Regions from separate parts of the Homo sapiens genome. Here regions 2, 3, 4 and 5 are each linked to region 1. Evidence: promoter capture Hi-C in human tissues and cell types (Jung and others, 2019). All regions are on one chromosome and are shown on one strand. The core of a region is centred on a gene start or on the middle of the fragment in contact, and the rest is flanking DNA. Distances in the headings are between cores, read along the strand shown. Region 1 holds the start of S1PR1 (sphingosine-1-phosphate receptor 1). Region 2 overlaps EXTL2 (exostosin like glycosyltransferase 2). Region 3 overlaps SLC30A7 (solute carrier family 30 member 7). Region 4 overlaps SLC30A7 (solute carrier family 30 member 7). Region 5 overlaps SLC30A7 (solute carrier family 30 member 7).

The links. The method cuts DNA at HindIII sites, captures the fragments that hold promoters and counts their contacts. A contact is called where the count stands out against the background at its distance.
Region 2: a fragment that was not itself captured here is called in contact with the fragment with the promoter of S1PR1 in region 1 in 1 of the 25 tissues and cell types used here (small bowel).
Region 3: a fragment that was not itself captured here is called in contact with the fragment with the promoter of S1PR1 in region 1 in 1 of the 25 tissues and cell types used here (lymphoblastoid cells).
Region 4: a contact is called between a fragment that was not itself captured here and the fragment with the promoter of S1PR1 in region 1, in 1 of the 25 tissues and cell types used here (thymus).
Region 5: a contact is called between a fragment that was not itself captured here and the fragment with the promoter of S1PR1 in region 1, in 2 of the 25 tissues and cell types used here (lymphoblastoid cells and spleen).

Annotation. Positions count from the first base shown.
Region 1 is chr1:101,235,769-101,238,646 of GRCh38, forward strand. S1PR1 (sphingosine-1-phosphate receptor 1) reads left to right here and starts at 1,251. Exons shown (of 2, transcript NM_001400.5): 1 at 1,251-1,331. It overlaps S1PR1-DT (S1PR1 divergent transcript), which reads right to left and starts at 760. Exons shown (of 2, transcript NR_104626.1): 1 at 557-760; 2 at 1-113. RefSeq lists an enhancer at 341-430. The HindIII fragment of the contact is 36,645 bases long and covers 1-2,878 here.
Region 2 is chr1:100,875,420-100,878,297 of GRCh38, forward strand. It overlaps EXTL2 (exostosin like glycosyltransferase 2), which reads right to left. Exons shown (of 5, transcript NM_001033025.3): 3 at 2,057-2,484; 4 at 1,375-1,445. Among named protein-coding and RNA genes, the nearest start is that of EXTL2, 18 kb to the right of the region's middle. The HindIII fragment of the contact is 3,736 bases long and covers 1-2,878 here.
Region 3 is chr1:100,901,474-100,904,351 of GRCh38, forward strand. The region is part of intron 2 of SLC30A7 (solute carrier family 30 member 7); the gene reads left to right. Among named protein-coding and RNA genes, the nearest start is that of SLC30A7, 6.8 kb to the left of the region's middle. The HindIII fragment of the contact is 3,955 bases long and covers 1-2,878 here.
Region 4 is chr1:100,954,691-100,957,568 of GRCh38, forward strand. The region is part of intron 8 of SLC30A7 (solute carrier family 30 member 7); the gene reads left to right. Among named protein-coding and RNA genes, the nearest start is that of SLC30A7, 60 kb to the left of the region's middle. The HindIII fragment of the contact is 6,198 bases long and covers 1-2,878 here.
Region 5 is chr1:100,972,861-100,975,738 of GRCh38, forward strand. SLC30A7 (solute carrier family 30 member 7) reads left to right here. Exons shown (of 11, transcript NM_133496.5): 11 at 1,950-2,878. The coding sequence ends at 1,997. Among named protein-coding and RNA genes, the nearest start is that of DPH5, 51 kb to the right of the region's middle. The HindIII fragment of the contact is 4,137 bases long and covers 1-2,878 here.

The DNA.
Region 1 (2,878 bases), core at 1-2,500:
TGGGTGGAAACTTTTACAACAGTAATGCAAGGGCAGAAGCGTCCTGTCCTGAGCTTGTCACGCAGGCAGATCTGACCAAGTCCGCCTCTCAGCCTCACGTTCTTAAGTAGCATCTAAGCAAAAGAAAAGGGTGGGCAAAGTGCTAGTAATGAGATTTGAGGCCTCTGAGTCGACTCCCAAGCAGAATGTGAGAGAAGGGTGCCGGCTCCTGCTGGGCAGCTGCAGTTGCTCCGCAGCTCCTGGCCGAGAATCTCCCCCTTTGGAAATTCCTGAGCTGCCCAGGCGTTTTGAATCTCTCAGGACTCAGCAGCAGCCCACCCCCTCAACGACCTCTCCATTGGCCAGAATCTGGGACACACAGCCTGACTTTGTGCTCAGCTGAGGGAAACCCCTCGCCCAACACCAAAACCGGCGCTGGTTCATTTCTCTGTGCACTCTGGGAAAGCCACTGCCCCTCAGACCGCAGTTGCGAGTAGCACGAGGATCTGGGGTGGCGGGGGGAGTACAGGAACCTCCCGGTTCATTCTCCCTCCCGGGCTGCTTGTCTCCTCCGTACCTCTCGCAGCCCCTTCCCAGCCTCTCCTCCCCAGAGCGCCGCCGACACTCGCCGGGCCGCGGCTCAGGTTTTCTGCTGCTCGCGCGAAAGTGGCTCGGGGAGCTCCTGGCCACAAGCTCAGCACACCGATCCTCCTAGGGCTGCGGGGGGTGTGGGACCAGGGCGGTGCGCTACGAGACTCCGGGCCGTCCTCTGCCTCCTCAGACTTTTCGAGAGAAAAGTTTTCAAAGTCTCTCCACCTTTTTTTTTTTTCAGGGGCTCGGGAGAATCCTCTCCACAGCCAGGGATCAGCGTCTATCTGGGCGAGGGCAGTGATTTATACAGTAGAATCCAGGGGTTACCGGGCTCCGCCCCTTCTCTCTCTCTCTTTTTTTCTTTCATTTGTTGTTTGGGGAGGAGGGGTTCTTTTTTTTTTTTTTTTTTTTTTTTTTGCTTCTGCCCCAGATCTTTCCTGGACAGTGCGTCTCAGCAGTTCAGATCCGGGGGCCCCCAGCTGACAGAGGGCGTGGGGGGTTAAGGCATTAACCCCTCCCAGCCTCTTCCTGAAGAAACCACCCAGCCTTGGCGCGGCGCTGGGTGACTTCGCGTAGCAGGCAGGGAACTGGCCGCGGCGAGCGGGACTGGCCATTGGAGTGCTCCGCTGCGGAGGGAGGGGACCCCGACTCGAGTAAGTTTGCGAGAGCACTACGCAGTCAGTCGGGGGCAGCAGCAAGATGCGAAGCGAGCCGTACAGATCCCGGGCTCTCCGAACGCAACTTCGCCCTGCTTGAGCGAGGTAGGGGGCGGCGAATGGCGGGGGTCGCGGGCGCGGGGAGCCCGGTTGTGGTAGGGCTTAGGTGTCAGAAACGAATTTTTAAGTCGAACGAGGCAAACAAAAACTTAGAAAACATGCATCTCCGGGCGCTGAAAATTTGCATCTCTGGGCTACTAAGGAGCCCATCTCGATCAGATTGTTCTTGGGCACTTGTGATTTATGGAGTTCAGAAAAAAGGTTAATTCCCAACTGTGGAACCTACGGGTGTAGGGGCAGTGAAAATTGCAGTTGGTCGGAGGAATAGGAGGGAAGGCGTTAAATTTTGGAAATCCTATAGACAAAGAATATGGTGGGTGGTGTGGAGCGTGGGTAATGGCTTAAATTAGTACTGCCCAGGAGCAGGGTATAAAATTAGTTGGGGGAAAATGCGGAGCTTCTTGGCTTGAGCAGCCTCTGCTGTTCGCGGAGTTGCTGGGATTGTTCTCATCTCTATTACCTCATTTTATTGCATTGCTGCATTACCTTGAAATATTTAAGCAACTTAGAAGTAGACTTCTGCTGACCAGTGCCGTCTTAGAAAGTTTCTTTGTAACTTTCTAGTCCTAGGAGAGGAGTCAACGTGTTGGGGGACTGCAGTAAATAAAACTGCCCACGCAAATTTAGCAATGCACCAGGGAGCAGTTTAATGTGAGTTTCTGAAGAGTAGTTTTGCAATCGAAATTAGAAATGTGGTAGCATGTATTATGGCTGTCATGAGTAGTTTGATTTCTCTCTTTTGTGTATGTTTTGGCTAAACTAAACAAAGCAAAAAATATTTATGCAATCAACTAATGTACGAAACTTCTGGGATTTGCTGCAATCTGTTATGAATGGTTTTAACTGAATACCTTTAAATTTACTTGCCCTGGCTTGGGGTGGGGGGTGGGGTGGGGGGGCGCGGGGGGAGGCGGGGAGAATAAGAAGAAGAAAGAAAAGGCAGTCGCTTCACGGAGGCGCTAAGCTTTCCTGTTTACAGCAAGGCGGGGCGGGCCTGGCTGCCCACACCTCACTGCGCCCTCGGACCCTAAGCACACCTGCTCCTAGAGAGTTATTAATAGAGCCCCCAAATGGCTTACGCTTTCAAATGATTTTCCTGCAAATCTGATTTCTTGCATGGCACATGGCAATTAGGAGGTGGTGCTAGTATCTTTGAACTGGGGGGCTGGGGGTGGGCATGGGGGACAGAGGTGTGTGTCTTCGCCCTCAGACTGGCAGTTGAGTCTTTTCCGAGGAGAGACGTGGGCTGGTATTGAGCGTGCAGCTAAGCTGGTGACTGCTTCAGAGAATCTCATGGCTGGAAATCCGGGGGTGAGGGGGTGTGGGGTGGTGAGAGGGCAGGAGTGGAGTTAAAATGGGGTGTAGTTCTCTAGGTTTCCCATTCCTCCCACTCCTTGTTTTCCTTTTCATCATCTTTTTTTTTTTGTCAACCCACAGCCAACATCGTAATTCCCATTTCCCTTTGAGTGAATGTGGCCATAGAGTTTCTCCCTCTCTTTTTCTTCCCCCTCTTCCTTTTTTGAAAAAAGAAA
Region 2 (2,878 bases), core at 163-2,662, 360 kb before region 1:
GTTGCTGGGAGGCAAAGGGGAAGGTCAGGGGATGGGGGATAAAGGCTGGGAGGTTTCAGAGAAGATGCGCTATTTATACAATCTAGGAGAATGAAAGAAATTTCACAATTGGCTAGAGAGGGAAAAGGGAAAACACTAAAAGTGGAGGTAATGGGCAAATACAAAGACACAGATGAATGTCTACTCGAATCTTGCTTGCTTATACACAAACCTCAGATCATTATGCTATGCAGGGTTTGGGTTGGACTGAATTTAAGTTGGTCAATGGACTGAAATTGTTTTTGATATTTTTAAAAATAAAACCTGAAATCATATTTATATATCTTTAATTTATAGTTTACTCAGATGGTTCCAATTAACCACAGTCCCCATATTCTGCCTCCATTTTTACATTTTGGGCAAATGGATTTTTAAGCATCAATAGAAATCTCACAGTTGAATTATCACATTAGAACTTTTTGTCCAAGAAGCTTTCATGTATTTCATTTCATTCCAAGGACTGGAAAAAAAAATTGTTGATATGGAAAAATTTCGTTGGTCAGCACACTAGGCATGAAATTAAAAACTGAAGTTTTAAAAATGCTGATATCTGCTGAGTATTGTGATCACTTACCATTAATATCGAATGCTGTTATATCCCAAGAAGCTAATTTTAAAAGTTACCATGGCATAAATTCGATCATTTACTGGGTAGCACAGTGTTTAATTATTTGACACGGCTTCGAAGTACTTCCATGCAGTTCCGGTTTCAGGTAATGGCAGTGCAACTTGTAAAAGTTAGCTATTACTAACACATATTCAATAGGAGAGAGCGGCTTTTATAGGATACTGACCAATTTATGCCTGCTTATTCAAGCTATGATTTAGGAAAAAACAAAACAAAATAAAACAAAACCCTCCTACCACAATGGTACATGTAAAATTATTACTGCAAAATTTCTAAACAATGCTCTCAGAACCAGGATTAAATTTTGTGGAGGTAATAAATACTTCCTTTTACAAAAAGTTATACACATTATTAACATAGAAATAGGCTTATCATTTGAGACACATGTCTGTGGTCTAGGCAAAACATCTCCTCATTCTAGTTTTTGCTGGACCACATCATTTCCCCATTGTTCTCTGGAAGGCAGTTCTAGCTCTTTTCCCCAATACACCAAAATATAAATTAAATCTAGATAAAAGATACTATAACTTTCAGGATGGCTGAACTAAGCTCAGAAAATCTTGATTAGCCTATAACAAATTCATCCATCTTTTAGATAAATATTATCTAAAATATTTTAGGTAACTTCTATATTAACCATGTTGCCGTGGTTAAGTACTAGTCAAGATCTTATAAAGACGGTTTCATAAAAGAGACAGCAACATTACCTGCCAAACTGAGAAAGCAAAAACAAGGTCTGGGGTGCTGATGAGTGTGTCATCATCTACCATCAACACTGCTAAAATGAAAGGACAAAAATTTAAGTTGAATAGTTCGGAAATGAAAACAAAAGTAGTAAAATACAATAGTGTCTATATAGATCATTCAAATGAAGTATTTTCTGACCCAACAATAAATAAGCAATGTATTCTTGGGGAGATTTGTCCAGTAGAAAATAATTTTTTTGGTATCATAACTGATTGTATAACTGCCTGAAGGGAAAATAATCAAGCAGTTATTATCCATCATCCTAGAAACTATTGGGCCTATAAATGAATAAAGCCAAGATTCTTTTAAGCAAATTGCAACCTCATGAAACTGTCAGGAATGGGAGGAAAAGAGGAGTGGCAAAAAAATATATTAAGCATAAGCTAAATGGCATCTTACTATCAACTGTAATGCAATCATATGTAATTATAGCATATCCTTTATTACAATATTAACCTCTTCGCCAGGAAACCACTTCTTGACATCTTGGAAATTGTCCCTCAAGCTTTCCAAAGTGCTTTCTTAGGACTAACTTCCTTCATTTTTCTCCAGACGGTTAAGCAGAAGGCCAGAAATTCACATGTCTGTCCCAGCTCTGGACAGCGGCAGCCTTTCCAGGCTGAGAACTACACTGCAACTCACCATTGGTTTCCAGTTCAGGAAAGACCTGGAGTCGATTTCTCATCCTGTTTGCTGTCTGTTGTTTGAAGATCACAGGGATAGGGTGGGGCCCTAGAGAATTCCATAATTCATCTGGTGCCTTCTCTCCAATATTGTTCCATACCACAATCACTTTGTGCAGATTTGGTACAGCCTGATAATGATTTAAAAGTTTCAATAAGAGATCTGTTCTGTTGTACGTCTGCATTATGAGAGTAAAGGAGTCCATGGTGGACTTGCCCTGGGATTTTATTTCCCTACGCAACATGAGCATCTTGTCTTCTTTAACACTGGGAAGTAAGGCAGTCAAAGCACCAGCTACCAGTAATAATACGAGGATGACCACCAAAGATAATCGAAGCACTCGAATCCCCATTACTCTCCCAGGAAGTTTGCAGATGTGGCAACACCTGGAGTAGAAATGGAAACAACATACAAATGTTAGCATTCTTACGAGTCCCTGTGTTTTCATGTTTTTTTCCAATGAGGAAAGATATCAATCTTATTTTAGTTGATTCAAATTCAGTTCTCCCTTCCTCCTCAATAAGGTAATTTGGCCTAAGAGATTTTAAAAAACCAGTTTAATATTCCCTTCCTTCTTGCCCTGCTTGTTACGCAGTTGCAGACAAAAGATGTTATACACACAAAATTGGAAAAATTAAGCATTTAAAAATTTGCCATCATTTTATCACTATATCTCCAGAACTGAGATTATTTTTCAACTGGGATTTTATTTCCCTTAGTAATATATTAATTTCGAATCTACACTTCTGTAGTAGCAGACTTTTTCCCAAACAAAATCAT
Region 3 (2,878 bases), core at 105-2,604, 330 kb before region 1:
AGACGGAGTCTTACTGTGTTGCCCAAGCTGGAATGCAGTGGCGCGATCTTGGCTTACTGCAACCTCTGCCCCCTGAGTTCAAGCAATCCTCCTGCCTCAGCCTCCCAAGTAGCTGGGAGTACAGCCACGCCTGGCTAATTTTTGTATTTTTAGTAGATGGGAGTTTCTCTATGTTGACCAGGCTGGTCTTGAACTTCTGACCTCAGGTGATCCACCCACCTCAGCCTCCGGAAGTGCTGGGATTATAGGCACGAGCCACTGCACCCGGCTGGTTTTCCATGTTAAAATGTCTTTAGAAGGTAGTCATTTAAAAGAGTTTACAAATACATTTTAGAGAAACTAGCAGTGCTTAAAGAGGAGTCTACGACAAGTAAGTGGATTTTCACAACCAGCTTTACTTTATCATGGTTTACTGAAGTTACCTTTGGTGTTTCAGTCATGTAACCTTAGGTATTCTCTATGCTACCTTTATTTTTTAAGGAAATTTATAGTTTAAATTTATAGTTTAAATATAATTCATAATCAGAAACATTTGCTAAGATTGAATATGAGCAGTAAAATTGACCTTCCTCATAAGCAATATTTTTACATGTGATAGGTCAGCAGAGAGCTAAAAGTAGACTGTTTTTCCCATGAGTTTGTGTATTTGCAGCTAGGTAATTTTTAAATCATGATATCAAGTTTAAGGGAAAAGATCTCATATTGCAGTGTTTTAAGAGAACATAATGTTCTTCCATCTCAGAAGAGGGAGTAGTTTTTCAGGTAGTCACATTTTATTAAGTACTAAAAATAACATTTTAATGCTAATTAAATTTACTTAAAATTTAAATAAAATTTCATTTTGATGAGTATTAAAATTGCCGTGCTATATCCACACCTCTTTAAAAGGAACCTGACTGCTATTCTGTGCAAAAGGAATTTTTATTTTTATTTTTATTTTTTGCATTATGGCAATATTTGGTTTATGTTGGGTGCATATAAAGTAAATTTGTTGAAAAAAAGGAGTGTGTGTTAGTTTGCTAGTCTGGTGTAATAAAACACCACAAACTAGGTGGCTTAAACCACAGAAATTTATTGTCTCACAGTTCTGGAGATTAGAAGTCAGAGATCAAAGTGTCATCAGGGTTGATTTCTTCTGAGAGCTCTGAGGAAGAATCTGTTCCATGATCTTTCTGTAGCTTCAGTTGGTTTTCTAGTAATCTTGGACAGTCTTTGGCTTGTAGGAGCATCACCTGATCTCTGCCTTATCTTCGCATTGTGATCTATGTATCTTCTTCCAAATTTCTCTTTTTTATAAGGACACTGGATGAGGGCTCACCTTAATGACCTAATATTAACTAATTATATCTGCAATGAGTCCATTTCTAATAAAGTCACGTTCTCAGGTACTAGAGGTTAGGACTTCAACATATGAATTTGGGCGCAGGAACACAATTCAACCCATGACAGTGTTTTACTAAATAATAGTGAAATAGATAGTAAAATATAGATCAATAAATCAGTAAATGTTTGTTTATATTTATTTACAATGAATGCCCTGCCTTCTAAAACTGATTACAGTAATTTAAAATAAAAGCTATATATACTAATAAAACACATTAAGAAATAAAAACATTTAGAAACCATACCTAGGGAGGAAAAAATTAATCTATTAAATATATAGTCTAATTTAGCTCCCAAAATTGACTTTTAAATTTAGTTATAAAATTCCATAAAGTGAACACAACTCTATCATTTTATCAGAGTAGAAAGACAGTTTTCTGAAATCAAATTTTAACAGTATTTTGCCATATTAATCTTTTCTTGGGGGATCGAAAACAAAATCATAGACAATGTCTTTATTAATGGTTTTATCACAGTATAGAGAAATTCTTCACATGAGTCTTTCATACTTCAAAATAAAGTTAAATCATTATTTTCCATGTTACATAGATGTTATGGTTCAAGTGTGTAATTTTCGGTAATCTAACTATACAAGGACAAATCTTAAAATATTAAATCTAAGAGAATTGCATGAATAATATGCCCCTTACCTTGTCCTCATGTATCAGTTTTATTATTCTGCTTTATCATTTATTCACCAATTCTCATTCTGCTTTGAGTTAGATGTCAGATGAGATGGTTAAAGTACTATCTGCACTTAAACTTTCTAATATATCTATATTTCAGTGGAATAAATAAGGTTCATGATAAAAGTTTAAGACATTTTCTAAAATCTTTTGTAATGATTTGGCAGAGGTTTATAAATTATTGTGCTTTTTCTTGTTGGTAAATGATGTGCTTTGACTTAGTTTCTAATTATATAATTATTCCAAATTATGAGAAAAATTTAAAACCATGCTTTTTCTGTATGTGTGAAGAATGTTTTTGACTTTTAGTTTGTAGCACTTCCAACTGATGAAAACTCTAGCATCTAGCCAAATATTAAGAGGTATGGGTTGTGCTTGGGAACACCAGGTATTATAAGCATTAATAATAGTTAATAATTAATAATGTGATTTATTAATAATTAGCAATAGGAATATTAATGTGGTTTTAATGTGACAAGCATTGTGGTAAATGTTTCATATATATTAACTCAATTATTATAACAATTATGACACTTTTATACTATACTCTATTGAAGTGATGGCTAAATTGAGGCACAAAGAAGTTAAGTAACTTACTGGTCACGGAACTAGTAAATTTGGAGCTGGGATTTGAACCCAGGTACTCTGACTTCAGAAGCTTGTTTTTAAAGACTGAACTGATGATTGCTTTCAGAACATTTTTATTGACTTCTCTTCAAGTTCACGGATTTCTTTCCTCAGCTGTGTCCAGTCTGTGATAAGCCAATTGGAAGAATTCTTTATCGCTGATAACTTGTTTTTTGTTTCTA
Region 4 (2,878 bases), core at 123-2,622, 280 kb before region 1:
ATAATTATAAAGTAAAGCACAATCCCAGGTGATAAGATTTTTGGTTATCTATTCTATAGAAGGCTTATGAAATTCTGGATTAATAGGTAATTATCCATCACTATGAATTAATTATATTTATGCAAATGTGACTGAATATTTAATTTAAATGTGAATTGCGTTACCATTATGGGCCAGTTTTCTTTGGCTTTTTTGTCCCCTGAAAATATGATATACAACATAAGCCAAATTTATTTTTAAAATTTATTTTTAAAACTATAATTTTCTTTCTTTGTGTTTGTAGATTGTAAGAACCCCTACAATATATAGGAAAACTTAGCTCATAAGCTGATTCATCAAGATGAATCTGTAATCTTGTTTTAATTAATATTACTTGACATTTATTCTCAGATCTAAGTAATAATTTTAACTGAAATTTTTTATTGTTAAACATTGTGATTGTCAGTAGACTGTTCTTCAGAAGTTTTCGTAATGCATACCCTTTTTTGTTTGGTTTGTTTATAATTACTGGTAGATAATTTTATTTACTGTTGAAGTAGTGAGGCTCTTTCACTAAAAGCTGCTTCTGAAGTAAGATTTGAATATATTTTTACTTGTAAAAAATTACTGGCAGTAAAGAGTAATAAGTAACTACTGCTTATTTAATCTGTTAGCATTTAAGGGTAAAGCTTTCAAATTAATATTATGTTTATGATTGTAAGATTATAACTGTGATTTACCTTCAGCTTTTGAAGAATAAAATCATTGCCCTGTTTTACTGGTAAACTCATACCTAATGACTCATCTCTTTTTATTTATGATAGGGAAATGGTGCTTCATTGTGAATGCTAGAATTGGGTTAGTCAACCAGAAGTGAACCTCTAATTGTTTCCAAATGCTTACTTTTTGGGTTTGGATGTAGCTCTAAGTCTTAGCTCAGTCAGGAATTTGCTAAGCTTGTCGTTTTCTACATTTCCTTTCATTATGGCTAGATAGATCCAAGCTAAAATCTGGTTTATGCTTCTCTATTACAATAGTTAATCAGAAAAATATGGACACAAACTCCTGAGCTAAACACAATTTTAAAAGGCAAAAACTAGAGTTTCTAAAGGTTTCTTTTACATTTTTATGACTCTTTAAATTATTATAGAAATTGGCCTTGTTCTAAATTGTGTATCACCGTGTGATTTAGCAAGTACCTTTATTCTCTACCATAGTTTTATGACCTAGTTATTGCTCCTACAGCTGAAATTCTTGCATTATTTTTAAATTGCTATTGGAGAAAGTTAGTGTGACATATCCATTTGCTTTGGTGAAATGCTTGCTGCTGTTGAGTGTAAAGATTTTATTAAAATTCTACCTAAAAAGACAACCATTCCAAATTTCAGTATAAGCAAATCAATAAAAACCACAATTGATCCTAATGAAAAAAAGAGATAAAAATGCACTATAATTTTATTTCCTTATATCAGTGATGATGTCTTATAATTTAGTTAATTTTAAAATATATGTTTATTTCTAACATTTTATTAAAATGTTTATCTACATATTGTTCTTGAATGGTGTTAAAATGAGTGATCTCTAAATTTCCTTTTAATTCTAATATGATATTATTTGTGATCATGTAACTTCTTTACTAATTCTAGAGTCCTCAAACTAAGGGCCTCATGTGAAAGCGAATTTTAGGAGGAAAAAAGGAAGTACTAGGTTATTTTTTAAAAAGGTGGTGGCAGGGAGTAGCAGACTTTGGAAGGCAACACACATGGAATACACACATAAAAATTTGAACAAAGATTTGGATAAATCTGTAGATGTTTTTTCTAGGTGACTTATTAAGAGACTGTTGGACTGTCTAAGGGAATGTCTTTAATGTTTTAAGGCTGATCTCCTCAAGGATTATTATAGATGGGATTCACCATCTGTTACTGTGTTTAGCTCCTTGGGGGAAACAACTAGACTAAACCTGAATATTCTAAAACAATAAATTTTTAAAAGTTGTTCACAAAAGTTATTCACACCTATTGCTTAAGTAATGTTATTTCTCATACTGTATGCCTTCTGTTGCAGTTGAGTCAGTGCCTCTTCTATTCCTTTTTCTCTTCCCCTTTACTTTTAAAGGTATGTTTAAAAAGAAGTTATCAACATACCAATTAAGAAAACCATTTACCAAAAGTTCATGGAAAATGAAAATGGATACAAGCATAATATGTAGTTGCTTTAAATTCATATGTGCCTTCTTCTAAATGGTTGGCCCTAAATAAGTTTGATGACTGATTTCCATTGCCTTCTCTGCAGGCTTATTAAAAATAAAGTTATGAATTTCTCTGAGATGAAATATTCTATATTATTTATTTTTGTATTTCCAGTGTCTAGCACATGCTTGCTACATGGTTGGCATATAACAGATGTTTGTTGACTTGAACTTTTCAAAACTGAACTTGGAGTCTAACGACCTGATCTGTTCTAGTTCTCCTGCTTAATAGCTGTGTCCTTAAACAAGTTACTTTGGTGCTCTAGGTCACCATTGCCACAACTCGAGAGTAAGGTCCCACCTGGTTCCAGAAAATCTGATGCCAGATATATAGTAGTAGATCCTTAATAATCGCTTAATATTGATTGCTTAATAAAATTCATTTGCTGGATTTTCTATCATGATAGAATAAATCATTTTGCCAAGTATATCTATGTGTCATTTGGTGACACTGCTTTTTTCCCCTTAGTATATAAAAACAATTTATATTTTCTTTCATTTCCAAATATATTCTCTCTCTAGTATTCTTTATAGTTTAACCACTTTTTCTTATTGAATGGAAAATATATAAAAGATGAAAGAAATTGCCTGGATGTTTAGTCTACTCCTTCATTTTATAGATGAGAAAACTGATGCTCTGGAAGACTA
Region 5 (2,878 bases), core at 181-2,680, 260 kb before region 1:
GTGTGAGATTAGTAGGGCTGGTGTTTATCAATGCTTTTAAAATGAGAAAAAATTAAGTTTGATTTTAATTTGTAACTCAAGAACATACAGATACTGAATTCTGTCTTTTTTTCTGCCACATCATCTTAACTGAGGAGAGGATGCTATTAAATATATTTTTCTTAAATTTGAATAACAGAGGCTTTAACTTTCCACAGGAAAAAAAAAAAGAAAAAAAAGGAGAAGCACCAGCAAAATTAAAATATATTTCTTTTGCTGACAAGCTTCTAGAGCCTGCAAGCCTTTTATCCATTCGAGTAGTTCCTGAATCCTTTCAAGCACTCAGTATTGTACAGAGCCCTCCTACCTGAATTCTAGAAAAAAAGCCAAGCTAGGAAACAGTGCTTTGAGGAGTCCAGAAATTACTGTAAGAAGGTAGTGCTAATAGATTTTTTCCTCACTCTGATTTTTTTCCTATTAAATATTCCAATTTACCTTTTATTCTGTGGTACTGAGAAGAAAGGGCTTATTGTGACTAATGGGTTCCTTTAATTAAAAATAGATCATTTTGGGTTGAAAGAAGGAAATTAGTAGAATTTTAGTTAATTCAACAAATACTTATTGATCACTTACTGTGTGCTGGCTCTCACTTGAGGTTCTAGGAGTCAGCAATGTAAAGAAGAAGACCAAATCCTTTATCTCGGAGACATTATATTATAGTGAGAGGTCAATAATAAACAATAAACACCGTGAATAAGTTGTATAATACATCGCAAGGTGATAAGTTTACTGGGAGTGCTGAGGTATTTACCAGCTCTTGTACCAAGCTTTATTTTTTTCTTTAGCCTTTGGCGATTTCAGTTTTCAGAGAGGAGGAAGAACTAGCAGAGAAGACTGAGAAAGACTGATAAGTGAGGTAAAAGGGCAGCCAGTGAATATTCTCTGGAAGCCAAAAGGGAAAATATATATATCTATAGGCAGGAGTGACCATCTGTATTATTGCTGATAGGTGAAGTAGGAAGAAGAGGCCTGAGAATTGGATATTAATGTAAGCAATGTGGAAGTGACCTGGACACAGTTTGGGGGAAGTGTTGGGAAGCAAAAGATTGGTTGAAATGAGTTCAAGAGAGAAGTGAGAAAAAGGATTTTAGACAGCAAATATGGATAACTCTTTTGAGGCTTTTTGCTGTAAAGAAGAGCGGAGATGGGGAGCCCAGAAGGGGATGTAGGGTTAAGTAAAGATTTTTGTTGCTTTTTGTTGTTGTTTTAAATAGCTTTAGGGGGTACAAGTGCAGTTTTGTTACTAGGATATATTGCGTAGTAGTGAAGTTTGGGCTTTTAGTGCAACTATCACCTGAATAGTGTACATTGTACCCAAAAGATAATTTCTCATGAGGTTTTTTCAAAGATAGAAACAGCTACAGTGTGTTTGTATGCTAATAGAAGTGATCTAGTTGAGAGGAAGTAAATTGATAATACAGAAGATATTGGGGAGAATTTAGAGAGCAGTATCCTTGAGTAGCAAGTTCATATCCAAAACAGAAGAGAGAACTTGGAGTGCAAAATAATTCCAATAGATGGTTATACTTGCTAAATTGTTTACTAATCATTTATCACAGGAGGATTTAGACAGGGTTGATGTATCAATTTCAACTAGGAGCCAACCAGTCAAGCATCATGGTGTCCTCTAACAGAGTAACTGTAGAAGGTGAACTGCATTTTTCTAAGTATCACCTGGATATCTGGATAGGGTGTGTGACTGTTAACATGGCTCTTTTTTTTTTGTTTGTTTTTTTGTAGTGGTAAATGGAGATTATTTTTTGTAGCTTATGAATATATTTGTTTCTGAAATGATTCTTTTCTTTTTTTAAAAAAGTGAGATTTGTAAAAGAAAAAAAATACTTTCCTGAAATGTGTAGGGTGTTATTAGCTTGTTAGATTTTCTAACTTTTTTTTTTCTTACTTTTCAGGCTGGAGTGAGACAGCTCTACGTACAGATTGACTTTGCAGCCATGTAGTGAATGGAAAGAAATTATGCACCTTTTATGGACCAAATTTTTCTGGTACTGTACGATCCAAAACATTGTACCCAGCTTTTTAAAAGAGAGAAATTATCACTACAACTCCCGAGCACTAAGTAGACGGGGTAGAGTCAGCCGTTCATGCTTTGTGGGGAGTTCACAGCTAAGGGATCAGATTTAAGAGGATATCTCCTGGACTTTTGGTCTTTTCTTTTGTGCTCTTTCCTCCAAATCTTTTTGACTTCTGAGGTTTTTAGCTTAGGATGTTAATTTGTCCTTTTGTCTTTCTTTTTTTGTTTTTGTTTTCTGTTTGTTTGTTTTCATGTTGAATGCCCACACCACCATCCTCTCATCCCAGCCAGTAAGAATTTCAGTTGTGGGCCTCCAGTCTTCTGGAATGTCTTCACTGCAGCTGCTGGAAATCACTGCTTTCATTCCCACAAAACCAGTATTACTTTTTTTTAAAAAAAGAAAGAAATTGGAAATCTGTGCTATACGTAATGTCATAATTGTTGACGTTCTTCAGTATAATCATGTTTGTTAAATTGTTTGTACCTTGCAAACTTATGAACCAAACCATATTGGGTTTTCAAAGTGCCTTTGTATCCAAAAATGTATTTGCCAGCATAGAAATGTACCATCAAGAGTCATGTATGTTTTATTTTTGTTTTTATTTTTTATTTTTTGAGATGGAGTCTCGCTCTGTAGCCAGGCTGGAGTGCAGTGGCATAATCTCAGCTCACTGCAACCTCTGCTTCCCGGGTTCAAGCTATTCTCCTGCCTCAGCCTTCTGAGTAGCTGCGACTATGGGCGTGTGCCACCATGCCCAGCTAATTTTTGCATTTTTAGTAGAGATGGGGTTTCACCATGTTGGCCAG